Regions from separate parts of the Homo sapiens genome. Here regions 1, 3, 4 and 5 are each linked to region 2. The links are contacts of gene promoters, found by promoter capture Hi-C in human tissues and cell types (Jung and others, 2019). All regions are on one chromosome and are shown on one strand. The core of a region is centred on a gene start or on the middle of the fragment in contact, and the rest is flanking DNA. Distances in the headings are between cores, read along the strand shown. Region 1 holds the start of SNX32 (sorting nexin 32). Region 2 holds the start of NAALADL1 (N-acetylated alpha-linked acidic dipeptidase like 1). Region 3 has its middle 27 kb from the start of AP5B1. Region 4 holds the start of MACROD1 (mono-ADP ribosylhydrolase 1). Region 5 has its middle 12 kb from the start of LINC02724.

The links. The method cuts DNA at HindIII sites, captures the fragments that hold promoters and counts their contacts. A contact is called where the count stands out against the background at its distance.
Region 1: a contact is called between the fragment with the promoter of SNX32 here and the fragment with the promoter of NAALADL1 in region 2, in 4 of the 25 tissues and cell types used here (adrenal gland, heart left ventricle, heart right ventricle and 1 more).
Region 3: a fragment that was not itself captured here is called in contact with the fragment with the promoter of NAALADL1 in region 2 in 1 of the 25 tissues and cell types used here (spleen).
Region 4: a contact is called between the fragment with the promoter of MACROD1 here and the fragment with the promoter of NAALADL1 in region 2, in 2 of the 25 tissues and cell types used here (bladder and heart left ventricle).
Region 5: a fragment that was not itself captured here is called in contact with the fragment with the promoter of NAALADL1 in region 2 in 1 of the 25 tissues and cell types used here (H1 embryonic stem cells).

Annotation. Positions count from the first base shown.
Region 1 is chr11:65,832,593-65,835,292 of GRCh38, forward strand. It overlaps SNX32 (sorting nexin 32), which reads left to right and starts at 1,371. Exons shown (of 13, transcript NM_152760.3): 1 at 1,371-1,509. The coding sequence starts at 1,474. LOC124902693 reads right to left here and starts at 1,207. Exons shown (of 7, transcript XM_047427980.1): 1 at 1-1,207. The coding sequence starts at 919. RefSeq lists silencers at 923-1,052, 1,226-1,438 and an enhancer at 1,363-1,452. The HindIII fragment of the contact is 13,089 bases long and covers 1-2,700 here.
Region 2 is chr11:65,057,291-65,059,990 of GRCh38, forward strand. It overlaps NAALADL1 (N-acetylated alpha-linked acidic dipeptidase like 1), which reads right to left and starts at 1,263. Exons shown (of 18, transcript NM_005468.3): 1 at 1,047-1,263; 2 at 788-960; 3 at 585-706; 4 at 81-203. The coding sequence starts at 1,231. The HindIII fragment of the contact is 22,908 bases long and covers 1-2,700 here.
Region 3 is chr11:65,752,789-65,755,488 of GRCh38, forward strand. No RefSeq gene overlaps it. Among named protein-coding and RNA genes, the nearest start is that of AP5B1, 27 kb to the right of the region's middle. The HindIII fragment of the contact is 8,105 bases long and covers 1-2,700 here.
Region 4 is chr11:64,164,834-64,167,533 of GRCh38, forward strand. It overlaps MACROD1 (mono-ADP ribosylhydrolase 1), which reads right to left and starts at 1,280. Exons shown (of 11, transcript NM_014067.4): 1 at 864-1,280. The coding sequence starts at 1,161. LOC105369339 (a long non-coding RNA gene) reads left to right here and starts at 1,405. Exons shown (of 3, transcript XR_950187.3): 1 at 1,405-1,756. RefSeq lists an enhancer at 799-1,299 and silencers at 837-936, 1,067-1,146, 1,407-1,666. The HindIII fragment of the contact is 20,905 bases long and covers 1-2,700 here.
Region 5 is chr11:64,435,579-64,438,278 of GRCh38, forward strand. No RefSeq gene overlaps it. Among named protein-coding and RNA genes, the nearest start is that of LINC02724, 12 kb to the right of the region's middle. The HindIII fragment of the contact is 5,095 bases long and covers 1-2,700 here.

The sequences.
Region 1 (2,700 bases), core at 121-2,620, 780 kb after region 2:
TCAGCTTCTCTCTGATTGATCTCAGCATCTCTCCACTCAACCTCAGCTTCTCATCACTGGTTCCCAGCTTCTCTCCACTAGTTCCCAGCTTCTCTCCACTCCATCTCAGCTTCTCTCTACTTGATCTCAAATTCTCTCCACTTGATCTCAGCTTTCTGCCACTGGACCTCAGCTTCACTCCACTGGACCCCTGCTTCTCTCCCCTGCACACCAGCTTCTCACTAGTAGACCTCAGCTTCTCTACACTTGATCTCATCTTGTCTACACTAGACCTCAACCCCTTCTCATCCTGTCCCAGTTTATATCCATTGGATCTCAAGTCCTCTCCACTGGTCCCTACCTTCTCCCCAGCAGACCTCAACCTCTCTTCAAACCCAGACCCCTTCATAGGCCCTGCTGTCATCCCTGCACTCTTAGATTTAGCCTTTATTTCGTGTTTGACCTCTTGCTTTCCCCAAATACCCCTTGGGCTGTCTTTCCCCAAATCTGCTGAAGCTTGTGATGCACTTGCTCCACGGTATAGCAGCTTCACATCCATCCTTTCCTGACTCGGGCCTGACTTCCCTTTCAAGACCGTCTTTTCCACATCTTCCAGTCTCCAGTACTCAGACTCCAGCTTCGGCTTTCGAGTGTTTCTAGTCAGGAGCTCCACTCTCTTCCCAATTACCATGAGCCCGTTCCAAGGTCCCCAGGTTTTCTCTCGCAGCATCGGCACCCCCTTGCAGCCCCGCTCCAGTGGCGACCGTTCGCGGACCCCGGCCTCGCTTGGGGCGCCCTGGCCGCGGGACTTGTGGAGCTCCCTAGTCCTCCTAGGCTGCTTACCCCGCCGCTCCCTCCCGTCCAAGAGCGGAAACCTAAACAGACCCCCCTTCTCCACAGACATTGTCCCCTGCCCTCGCCCCTGGTCCACCACCCACATCCCCACCACTGCTTCCCATTCCCTGTCCCCACCCTGCCACCCTCACCCTCTTCCCCTTCCCCTTCCCCTTCCCCACTGCCTGGTGGGCGCCAAACTGGGCGAGTGCGCACGCGCAGGCCGCACGTGGCCGTTGGAAGGAGGGGCCCGGAACGGCGGCACGGGGTTGTTGTGGGGGTCAGTCCCCCGGGGACTGGAGGGAGACGCGGCACGCGGCCTCTGCGACCCTATGAACTCTGACCCCAGCTCCCACACTGTCGCCTATCACCGGCCCACTCTCCGTGCCGCGTGTCCCTTAAAAGCTGGGGCCTGGGACAGGAACGACAGACAATGCAGCCAATGGCGTCACGCGCGGTGCCCCGCTACCCAATCGAAAGGCGTGGCTGAGGGAAACGCGGTGGGAACCGCCCCCGACTCCAGGCGACTCCTTGGCCGGGCGGGGGAGAGCGTCCCCGTCAGCTGAGAGCATCCTCACTCGGTCAGTTCCTCGGGCGAGTTACGGGGACGACCTGCGGGAGCACGCGGGCAGTGGCCGGACGCTGAAGCCCAGGAGAGCGATGGAGACGTATGCGGAGGTTGGGAAGGAGGGCAAGGTAGAGAAAGGATGAAGACCCCCACCCCAGCCTCCCCTCACTCCATGAAAGCCCGTGATGCCCAATCATGCGGTGGTGTGTGTGTGTCTGTGTGTGTGTGGTCTGCCTCTGTGTGTTTCTGTGTGTGTCTGTGTGTGTATAGTCTGCATGTGTCTGTTTCTCTGTGTGTCTGTGTGTATGTCGATGTGCCTGCATATGTCTGTGTGTGTGTGTATCTGTGTATGTCTGTATTTGTGTCTCTGTGTGTCTGTGTGTCTGTGTGTGTCTCAGTGTGTGTCTGTGTCTTTGTGTGTCTCTGTGTATCTGTGTGTGTGTCTGTGTGTCTCCGTGTCTCTGTGTGTGTGTGTATGGCCTGTGTGTGTCTGTGTGTGTGCACGTATGCGTCCATGTGGGTGTTTGTGCGTGCATGTCTGTGTCTGTCTCTGTGTGTGTCTGTGCATGTCTGTGTGTGTGTGTCTGTGTGTCTGTGTCTGTGTATGGTCTGCGTGTGTCTTTGTGTCTGTGTCTGTCTGTGTGTATGGTCTGCATGTGTGCATGTATGCATCTGTGTGTGTCTCTGTGTGTATCTGTGTGTGCACGCATGTGCCTGTGTGTGTCTGCGCAGGTCTGTGTCTCTTTGTGTCTGAGTGTGTGTCTGTCTCTGTGTCTATGTATGGTCTGCGTGCATCTTTATGTCTGTGTGTGTGTGTCTCTGTGTGTGTGTATGGTCTGCGTGTGTCTGTGTGTGTGTGTCTGTGTATTTCTGGGTCTGTGTGTGTGTTTGCATGTGTCTGTGTGTGTCTGTATCCGTGTGTCTTTGTATATCTGTGTGTGTCTATGTCAGTGTGTCTGTGTGTGCATCTGTGTGTGTCTGTGTGCCTGTGTATGATCTGTGTATGTCGTTGTGTGTGTCTGTGTGTGTGTTTCTCTGTGCCTGTGTGTTTGTGTGTGTCTGTGTATCTGTGTGTGTTTCTATGTGTGTCTGTGTGTGCGTGTGTCTGTGTTTGTCTCGTGTGTCTGTGTGTGTGTATGTGCCCATGTGTCTCTGTGTGTATGTGTGTGTCTGCGCAAGTGAGAGAAAGGAGACTTGAGCAAGGGAGTGGGGAGCCTCTGTGGCACCTGTGTGCGGACTGATGAGGATGCCAAGGGAGGCAGGGTTTTGCCTTTGTCCTTACAGATGGAAAGGGACCCGTCACTGTCACTCTTACCCTC
Region 2 (2,700 bases), core at 13-2,512:
CCCCTTCCCCTCACTTCCTCCAGTCCACTGCCCAGCCCCTTCCTCACCGAGGCCTCCTGCACTGGGGGACTGCCACTCACCTTGGCCCCACGCCCTACACCCCCATATCGAGTCAGGGCAATGGTGCCTTCAAGTTTGATGCCCTGAGTCTGTAGCTCCTTAAAGTCTTCTTCCGCGCCCCGGTTGGCATAGACGAGGAGGCCCTAGTCCCAAGAGGGGGTGATCCTTAGAGCTGGGCCCAGCGAAGTGTGGGTGGGGAAGGGGGGTGGAAGTTTGCATGGCAGGAGGGAGAATTTAGATTCTGTTCCCCCACCTCACCCAGAGCTTGTAAGCTCCCCAAGAACAGTCACCCCTCATTTCCTCCATGTCTGGGTGCCCTGTAACAGACCTGGCCTTGAGCAGAGCCACTAGTGTTTGTTGAATGACTGATGGAGGAAAGGAGCAGCGATGGAGTGTCCCGGTGAGTAAATTCCGGAGGGCGCGCTGTGCCCCAGTTGAGGCACGTTCCCTGGGTCAGGGTGGGGAGAACCCTGGGTGGAACCAAGGGAGCTGGGCCAGAGCAGTAGGGGGGGTTCTGGGCCCACCTGTGGGGTTCCAGAAGGAGCATAGGCAGCATAGGGTTGTACCACATCTGGCCCCCCTTGCTCCCCGGTCACGTTCTCCTCAGTCCGGTGGCAGGAGTGGATGATGCCCCCAGTGGGGCCCACTGTTGGAGGGGTGGCAGTATCATGGCTGGGCCCAGCAGCTCCCCACCCCCGGGCATTCCCAAGACTGGGCAGGACCTCACCGATGTCCACGACGTTGGGCTGCTCCTGGCTAGGGAAGGACAGCAGCACTTCGTACGTGGAGGCCTCGGCCGAGTCCAGGCCTGACTCTGGGTCCTTCCAGCGCTGCAGCAGCAGCTGCACCAGGTCCTCATCCCGAGGGCTGGAGGCCAGGTGTGGCTCCCTGGAGAGTTCTCTGCAGGGTGGGCAGAGGGAGGGGCAGGGCCAGCATCAGGGAGGGGGCCTCTGGCAAACGGAGGAGCAGATGGCCCCACTTCTCACCTGAGGTTCTCCCGGATCCTGTGGGCATCCAGCTGCCCCATGACGGTCTCCAGGATCTCCAGGTCCAGGTCCTGGGGGGCCAGTGAGTTGGCTTTTTTGGGGATGGCAAAGTGGCCGAGGATGATCCCCAGCCCCAAGAGGGCAGCAGCCCCCAGCCCCAGCCCCAACACCTTCGTCCACTGCATCCTGCGGACTCTTGGCCAGCTGGGGTAGGACTGGTCTATAGGTTATTCCCTATAGAGGGGGTGTTGTGCCTGGTTAAACATTACCCCATGGGTGGCACTGCCCTTTGACCCCCAGCTGGCAGGGAGAGTGAGGGAACATCCCGCAGTGAGAGCCAGGAGCCATCCACATCCACCACATCCTGCACCATTTGCCTGGAATGGCTCTCCAAGGGCAGCAAGGTCACCCAGGGACACTGAAGCCGAGAGGGAAGGGGCTCATCCAGGGTGTCCCAGGAAAACAGAGGCCAAGCCAGGGCTGGAACTCAGAGCTCCTGTGTTCACAGCAGGGCCGTGCCCACTGCCCACCCTCACTGCCTCTGCCTCCCTCCAAGGCAGCCGATCTACAGCATACCCAGCCCTACCTGCCTGAGCAGATTTTGAGTTGAGATCCCCCTTCTTGCTGGACGTAAGCTGTGTGACCTTGGGCAATCCACTCAGCTTCTCTACACCTGTTTTCTTTTTTTTTTTTCTAGACTGTGTCTTCCACTGACACCCAGGCTGGAGTCCAGTGGTGTGATCTCGGCTCACTGCAACCTCCACCTCCCGGGCTCAAGTGATTCTCCTGCATCGGCCTCCCGAGTAGCTGGGATTACGGGTGTGCACCACCATGTCCAGCTAATTTTTGTATTTTTAGTAGAGATGGGGTTTCACCATGTTGGCCAGGCTGGTCTCAAACTCCTGATCTCAGGTGATCACCCGCCTCAGCCTCCCAAAGTGCTGGGATGACAGGAGTGAGCCACCGTGCCGGCTATGGTGTCATTTTCATTAAACAATATGGCATCTGTAGAAATAGCTAGTGCAGTGTCTGACATGTAGTGGGAGCTCATCAATTTTAACTACTCATCCCTCATCTGACTCTGGAAAATGTAAGGCCTAGAGCTAAAGGAAGAAGGAGGACCCAGAAGAACTCTCTGTGTCTATCCTGAAGGGAGCCCAGCGATACGAGGAATGGGAGTCCTGGGAAGGGAGGCTGTCCCAGAGGAGGCAGCAGGGGAAGCCCATGCCTCCCTGGCGAGGTGACTTCCTCTTCTATCCCCTGGCTCTGCCTGGACTCCGTCATCCACCCTCCTATTTATCCATCCACCCATCCCTCCATTCACTTATTCATTCCTTCCTTTATACATGCAAGCACTGTTCATTCTGTGCTATACTAGAGCCATGCAAGGCTGTGGGGAAGCAAAATCCAGCAGGCGAGGCAGACAGGCTTTAGGTTCAGCCATGTGGTAAGTGCCCTGTAGAGGGAGGATCACCATGCTCCCAGTGAAAGAGTGAGGAGTTCTGACTAGGAGGGAACATCTGAGGGGGTCCTCCAAGGCTGAAAAGGTGTTCCAGCATTTGCAAGGGCTGAGAGGGAAGTGAGACCCCAAGTATGCCATACACATACTGAGCCTCTTCCAGACCTCACGGAGAGCCAGGAGGGGCTGGGGGGG
Region 3 (2,700 bases), core at 138-2,637, 700 kb after region 2:
TTTAGGTTGCTCCGGAGTCTTAGCTATTGTGAATACTGCTGTAATAAACATGGAAGTGCAGACATCTCTTTGAAATACTGATTTCCTTTTCTGCGGGTATATATCTAGAAGTGGGATTGCTGGATCATATGGTAGCTCTGTTTTTAGTTTTTTGAGGGACCTCCACAATGTTTTCCACAGTGGTTGCACTAATTTACCTTCCCACCAACAGTGTACAAGGGTTGCCTTTTCTCCACATCCTCGCCAGCATGTGTTATTACCTGTCTTTTGAATAAAAGCCATTTTAACTGGGGTAAGGTAATATCTCATTGTAGTTTTGATTTGCTTTTCTCTGATGATCAACTATGTAGAGCACCTTTTCATATGCCTGTTTGCCATTTGTTTGTCTTTTTTTGAGAAATATCTATTCAGATCTCTGGCCCACTTTTAATCAGATTATTAGATTTCTTTTCTAGAGAGTGGTTTGAACTCCTTATGTATTCTGTCAGATGGTGTGATGGTTAATATCGAGTGTCAGCTTGATTGAAGGATACAAAATATTGATCCTGGGTGTGTCTCTGAGGGTGCTGCCAAAAGAGATTAACATTTGAGTCAGTGGGCTGGGGAAAGCAGATCCACCCTTAATCTGGTGGGCACAATCTAATCAGCTGCCATTGAATATAAAGCAGGCAGAAAAACGTGAAAAGGAGAGACAGCCTTCGCCTCCCAGCCTTCATCTTTTTCCTGTGCTGGATGCTTCTTGCCCTCGCACATCGGACTCCAAGTTCTTCAGTTCTGGGACTCAGACTGGCTCTCCTTGCTTCTCAGCTTGCAGAAAGCCTATTGTGGGACCTTGTGATCATGTAATAAACTCCCCTTTATATATAGAGAGAGAAAGAACACTGACTAATACAGATGGGAAGTTTGCAAATATTTTCTCCCATTCTATGGGTTGTCCCTTCACTTTGTTGATTGTTTCTTTTGTTGTGCAGTAGCTGTTTAACTTGACGTAATTCCATTTATACATTTTTGCTTTGGTTGCCTATACCTGTGGGGTATTGCTCAAGAAGTATTTGCCCACTTTGATGTCCTGGAGAGTTTCCCCAGTGTTTTCTTTTGGTAGTTTCATAATTTTCAGTCTTAAATGTTTTTAATTCATTTTGATTTGATTTTTTTGGCAAGAGATAGGGGTCTAGTTTCATTCTTATGCATATGGATATCCAGTTTTCCCAGCACCACTTATTGAAGAGACTGTCCTTTCCTCAATATATATTCTTGGAAACTTTGTCAAAAACGAGTTCACTGTAGATGTATGAATTTATTTCTAGGTTTTTGATTCTGTTCCACTGGTTTATGTATCTGTTTTTATGCCAGTGCCATGCCGTTTGGTTACTATAGCTCTGTAGTATAATTTGAAGTCAGATAATGTGATTCCTCTAGTTCTGTCCTTTTTGCTTAGGATAGCTTTGGCTATTCTGGGTCTTTTGTGATTCCATACATATTTTAGGATTTTTAGGATTTTTTTCTATTTCTGTGAAGAATGTCATTGGTATTTTGACAGGAATTGCATTAAATCTATTGGACATTTTAACAATGTTGATTCTTCCTATCCATGAACATGAAATATCTTTCCATTTTTTGTGTCCTCTTCAATTTCTTTTCTTTTCTTTTTTGAAATAGGGTCTCACTCTGTCACCCAGGCCAGAGTGCAGTGGTGTGATCATGGCTTGCCAAAGCCTTAATTTCTCAGGCTCAAGTGATCCTCCTGCCTCAGCCTCCTGAGTAGTTGGGCCTGCAGGTGCGAACCACCATGCCCAGCTAGTTTTTCTTTTTTGTGTTTTTTGTAGAGTTGAAGTTTCACCACGTTGCCCAGGCTGGTCTCGAACTCCTGGACTCAAGAGATCCACCTACCTTGGCCCCCCAAAGTGCTGGGATTACAGGCTTCAGCCACCATTCCCAGCCTCACTTCAGTTTCTTGCATGAATGTTTTATAGTTTTCATTGTAGAGATCTTTCATTTCTTTGGTTAATTCCTAAGTATTTTATTTTATTTGCAGCTATCCAGCCTGTGTTTTTAATTTCAGATTCCACTTGTTCATTGATGGTATATAGGAAAGCAATTGATAATTTTATATTAATCTTGCATGCTGCAATGTTGCTATAACTGCTCATTAGTCCCAAGGGTTTGTTGTTGCTGATTTTTCCAGATTTTCTACATAGACAATCATGCCATCTTTACCACCTTTCTTCCTTCCCAATCTGTATACTTCTATTTCTTTTTCTTGTCTTAGCATTAGCTAGGACTTCCAGCGTAATATTGAAAGGAGTGGGGAGAGAGGACTTTCTTTCCTTTTTTCTGATCTTAGCAGGAAAGCTTCTAGTTTCTCACTGTTAAGTAAAATATTAGCTATACGGTTTTTGTACCTTTTAAAAATCAAGTTAAGGAAGTTCCCCTTTATTCCTAGTTTACTGAGAGTTTTTTTAAATCACAAATGGGTGCTGAATTTTTTCAAATGCTTTTTCTGCGTGTATTGAATTATCATTTGATATTTCTCTTTTAGACGTGATGGATTACATTAACTGATTGCATACCTGGGATAAATCCCCATTTGGTCATGGCATATAATTATCTTTATGTATCATTGGATTTGATTTGCTAATATTTTGTTGAGGATTCCTGTACCTATGGTTATGAGAGATATGGATCTGTAGAGTTGTTCTG
Region 4 (2,700 bases), core at 30-2,529, 890 kb before region 2:
AGGCAGGCCCTGAAAGGCAGGGGCAGCTGGGTGCCCGGCAGGGCTATTTGGGGCTCAGTAGCGGCAGCTTGGGTTCTCTCTCTCCCCAGGCCCCAGACTCATGCCCCCTCCAGGAGCAAGAGGAAGTGGTGTGATTCTTGAAGGGTGTCATCAGTTGTCACAGGGACAAGACCCCACCTCTGCCCTGCTCCTCTAACCTCTGTTCCTGGCATGAGCAAACTGCTCACAAGTGGCCAGAGGCCAGCGAGAAGGGGAAAAGGGCGCCAGACCACGTGCCCAGGAAGGCATCAGAGTGCGGGCTTGGGGTGGGGTGGAGGCAGGACAGGCCAGCCCAGGAAGGTCACTCTGTGAGGTTACGTGCCCCACCAGGTGGGACGCCAGCCCCGGAGCTGTTCCCTCAGCCCCATTCCCGAACACTTAAGAACCACACTGTGCAAAGTTTGGAGAGTCCGGGATCATAACCTCCACTTTGCCACCAGCTCCGAGTGACCTTGGGGAAGCCAGCTGTGGCACTCGGCCTCAGTTTCCCTCCTGCACAGGGAAGGAAGTTGGTAGGTCCTGCACAATCTCTGGGGTGCCCTGTGACCCATTCCAATGGGGTAAGGAAGGCCGCCTTCCTCACGCTGCCCCCTGCGTGGACACTTGGACCTGGTCTGGAGTGAATTGTTCTGTGGGGCTGGGAACACGCGCGGGGGCGGGGGGGGCTGTCAATGGGGAGGAGGGGTCCGTTCCAGGGCAGATGGGGCCTCAACTTCCCCAGGTCTCTCGGGTGGAAGGGGCTGCTCGCTCGTTGGGGGCCGCCCAGCCGGGAAGCTCCACGTGAGGCCGCCCTCTCCCTCGCGCCCCCTCGTGCTTACACTTACATTTCGCCTCCTTCCAGTCGGTGGAGGTGCTCAGGTCCACCTTCGCCGCCATGGCCAGGGGGGCCCAAGTGCGCACCCCGGCTGTCCGCCCCACCGCCGCCGCCCCCCACGCCCCAACTCCCGCCGAGGTCCGCGCACGGCGGCCGAACACGCCCAGGAACGCCGGGGGACCGCACGTGCTGCTGCGGGTCCTCGTGGCACCCGCCAAGTGTCCGGGCCGGGGGCGCGGGGGGACGAGCAGCTGCCCCGCCGCGCGCAGCTGTGCCAGGCGGCCGGACAGTCGGCTCTGTAGAGACATGAGCGGGCGGCGCGGGACGGCTCTCCGCCCACTTGGACTCTATTTACGGCGCTCGGGAGTGTCTCTCCCTTATTTACTCTGGGACCGGGTGGCGACTGCCAGCCAGCGGCGACCTGCTCGGAGCCAGCGGGAGGCGCGGCCAGAAAACCCGGGAGCGCCGCTGGGCACCCTGGAACTTGTAGTCCGGGCCGCCGGATGGGCCCACGCACTCGTATACACACGTGCGCGCCCGCCCGGGCTCCCAGTGTCGCGGATGGAGCCCCGCCTGAGCCCTTCGACTTCTCCCGTGGCCGCCAGGCGCCTCCCCTCCGCGAGACCTCGGCCGCCTCTAACTTTCTGGTTGGCTGAGCGTCGGCTTCCCCGGCACGGGCTGAAGCCCCCGGGCCTTCCACGCAGCCCCGGGCCCCTCTGCCGCTCGGCCCCGCGGCGGAGCAGGCGCGCCGGCCGCTGCGTATCGAGCTGGGAGAGCCTGGCGCGGCTTCCGCAGTGCCGAGCGTTTTGCAGCCTGGGAGACCCGGGCTTCTCTCCCCGCGGGTCAGCAGGGCACCGCCTCCACACCCCAGCCTGCCCTCCTAGGGACAGGTGCGACGAACGGGTAAATCCGGTTTGGGGACTTCTCCCCAGAGCCTCTGCCTTCTAACAGCCCCGGGGCCAAGGCTCAGCTGGAGCAGAATCTAGGACAGCTGGGGAGGAGAGTCGAGGGTGGAAATAGTGGAATTTGGAGGCAGGAAACTTAGGCTTCAAGTGGCGTTCAAGGGTGGAAGGATTGGGGTGATGTTTTTGTGTGTGTCTGTGTGTTTTTTTTTTTTTTTCTTTTCTTTTTTAAACAAAAACCGGCCGGGCGCGGTGGCTCACGCCTGTAATCCCAGCACTTTGGTAGGCCGAGTTGGGTGGATCACGAGGTCAGGAGTTCGAGGCCTGCCTGGCCAACATGGCGAAACCCCGTCTCTACTAAAAATACAAAAATTATGCAGGCGTGGTGGTGCATGCCTGTTAATTACAGCTACTCGGGAGGCTGAGGCAGGAGAATCACTTGAACCCGGAAGGCGGAGGTTGCGGTGAGCCGAGATCGTGCCATTGCACTCCAGCCTGGGTGACAGAACGAGACTCTGTCTCAAAGAAAACAAAACAAAAAACACGAGGATGGATTTTTAAGTACTTTTATATATTTTTATGTACTATTAATATTACTTTATGATAAATATAATGAATACAGGCCGGGCCATTATAATAATATAATGAATGTAATAATGAATAATGAATAAGTGCTCACACCTGTAATCCCAGCACTTTGGGAGGCTGAGGCAAGAGGATTATTAGAGGCCAGGAGTTCAAGACCAGCCTGGGCAATATAGTGAGACCCCCTCATCTCTACCCGCCCCCACACAAAAAAATTACCCTGGTATGGTGGTAGACACTCACCTCTAGTCCCAGCTACTCCAGAGGCTGAGGCAGGCAAACACTTGAGCCCAAGGGTTCAAGGCTACAGAGAGCCATGATGGCACCACTGCACTACAGCCTGGACGACACAGTGAGACC
Region 5 (2,700 bases), core at 159-2,658, 620 kb before region 2:
CACCCAGGCTGGAGTGCAGTGGTGTGATCTTGACTCACTGCAACCTCTTCCTCCTGAGTTCAAGCGCTTCTCTTGGCTCAGCCTCCTGAGTAGCTGGGATTACAGGCACCCGCCACCACATCCGGCTAATTTTTGTATTTTTAGTAGAGACAGGGTTTCACCATGTTGGCCAGGCTGATCTCGAACTCCTGACCTCAGGTGATCCACCCACCTCGGCCTCCCAAAGTGCTGGGATTACAGGTGTGAGCCACCGCGCCTGGCCTCTATTCTTGTTTTCCATGTCCATTTATATTCGCACAGAGAGACACTCCTCCGTCACACACATGCACATATACACATGAACACATGCATGCACACACATGCAGAACACACATGAACATACATACATATTTTTCTTTGAGAATAATGTCAAACTATAAATACAGTTTTATAACTTGCTCTTTTTCACCTAACAACACATTGCCAATTAACTCAGCAATTAGCTTTGCTGGCAGCAAAGAGAAACAGGTTTTCTGCACAGATGATGTGGGAAGCATCACTGAGAGCCTACCACATGGCTCTGGGCCAGGAAGCGGGCAGCGGAGGGGGCACCTTTCAGATCCACCATCCTCTCCTCGGTGCAGGTGCAGGAAACTCCAACTTCGGGCAGGTGTGTCCACCTCTTACAAAGCTCTCTGTCTGGCTTCCAAAAGCTCTGGACTTAGCTTATAAGAAAAATGAGTCATCTGACAACATGGTTGTGAACTAGGACAGAGGTACTCAGGGATGCAGGGCTGTTCTCTCCAGACTTGCACCATCTTCCCCCCTCAGTGGGTTCTAGAAGTGGACCAAGAGACCCCAAGCTGGTGCAGAGTGAGTGTCCCCGGCTCTCCCCTGTTTGCCTGGGGGTGGCCAGGCTGGGACTGCATCAGGCAATGGCTGTGGCTATTGTCAGGCAGGCAGGCTGCCCACCACACAGGCATGAAAAAGGCCCTGGAGGGGGTTCCTGGGGCCTTCTATGGGATGCTGGCTTTTGCTATTCCGGTTATCCCTGAGGTCTCCTTGGCTGTCAGCCTCATGGTTCATTGTCTCCAAGCCAGGAATCGGCCACTGCCCACTGCCCTGAGTGGGGTCGCTCTTTGGGCTCAGTGTTAGGGTAGTTGCTGGAAACTGCAAGAGGCTGTCTGGGCAGGAATGTTGCGAAGGGAATGCAAGGAAGATGAGAGGGCCGGGTTGCGACCCTCACTGCTGCCTCTCCTGACACCCTCTCCTCCCTCCCCCTGCCCTTGCTAAAATAGTTTGGGGGGAATTGACTCAGCCTCCAGGGATGGGCCCTGATGGGTCTAAACAATCCATGTGATCCTGTCCTCTGTCCCATGGGGTTTCTGTGCCAGAGCTGTGTGGGCATCTAGTGTGTGCCTCTCCTCCCAACTGTGTAGTCAGGTTAGTGGCTTGAAATCAGCCATGGGGTGGCCGTGCGCGGTGGCTCACACCCATAATCCCAGCATGCTGGGAGGCTAAGGCTGGCAGATCACCTGAGGTCAGGAGTTTGAGACCAGCCTGGCCAACATGGTGAAACTCTGTCTCTACTGAAAATACAAAAATTAGCCGGATGTGGTGGCAGGTGCCTGTAATCCCAGCTACTTGGGAGGCTGAGACAGGAGAATCACTGGAAATGGGGAGGGGAGGTTGCAGTGAGCTGAGATTGTGCCACTGCATTCTAGCCTGGGCAACAGAGCAATACCCAGTCAAAAAAAAAAAATCAACCATGGGGAGTGTTTATACCACAGAAAATGGCACATGCTATAAATTAGAGCTTTTCCTCACACCCGTCCCCACCCCAGAGAGCTGGCTTACCTACACACCACTGACCCTCTCCCACTAATTGTGATAAAGGAGCCAGGCAGCCAGCTGCTGCTGGTGGCCACCGCACAACCACAGAGGGCTGACGGCAGGAGGACAGTGCAGAGAGACAGAAAGAGCATGGCTGCGGATGACATGCCTGATCATGCCTCACCTCTGGACTTTTTGGTTACATTTTTTCCGCATTCTTGAGAGCATCCTAAATGCTGCACCCTGGCCCTGGGGTGATTGACAGAAGGCAACACAAATGCCAGGTGAGGACCTTCAGCCCCCGGCCACTGTGGAGCAAGCAGAGCTGTTTTTGTCAAAGAGCAAAATTCTCTAGCCTGTGAGTGTTGCCGGGTGGACCTTCCCCTTCCTCCTGCCTCCCGAGGGGATGCTGCCCCAAAAGGGTCCATTTCTCAGTCTCCCCTGCCCTTAGAGATGAGCCCTGTTTTTGCCCTTTTGTGATATAAAGTTAGAAGGATGGGAAAGAGAAGAGAGGAAAGAGAGGAGAGAGGAGACAGCGAGAGGCGGGAGGCCAGGGACACCCACAGGCTATGAAGGGGCAATTTCTCAACATGGGAGTTCCTTTGTGGTTTTCTTTTTTTCTTTTTTCTTTCTTTCTTTTTTTTTTTCTTTGAGACGGAGCCTCGCTCTCTTGCCCAGGCTGGAGTGCAGTGGTGCGATCTCGGCTCACTGCAACCTCTGCCTCCTGGGTTCAAGCAATTCTCCTGCCTCACTCTCCCGAGTAGCTGGGATTACAGGTGCCCGCCACCACACCCGGCTAATTTTTGTATTTTTAGTAGAGATGGGGTTCACCATGTTGGCCAGGCTGGTCTAGAACTCCTGGCCTCAAGTGATCTGCCTGCCTGGGCC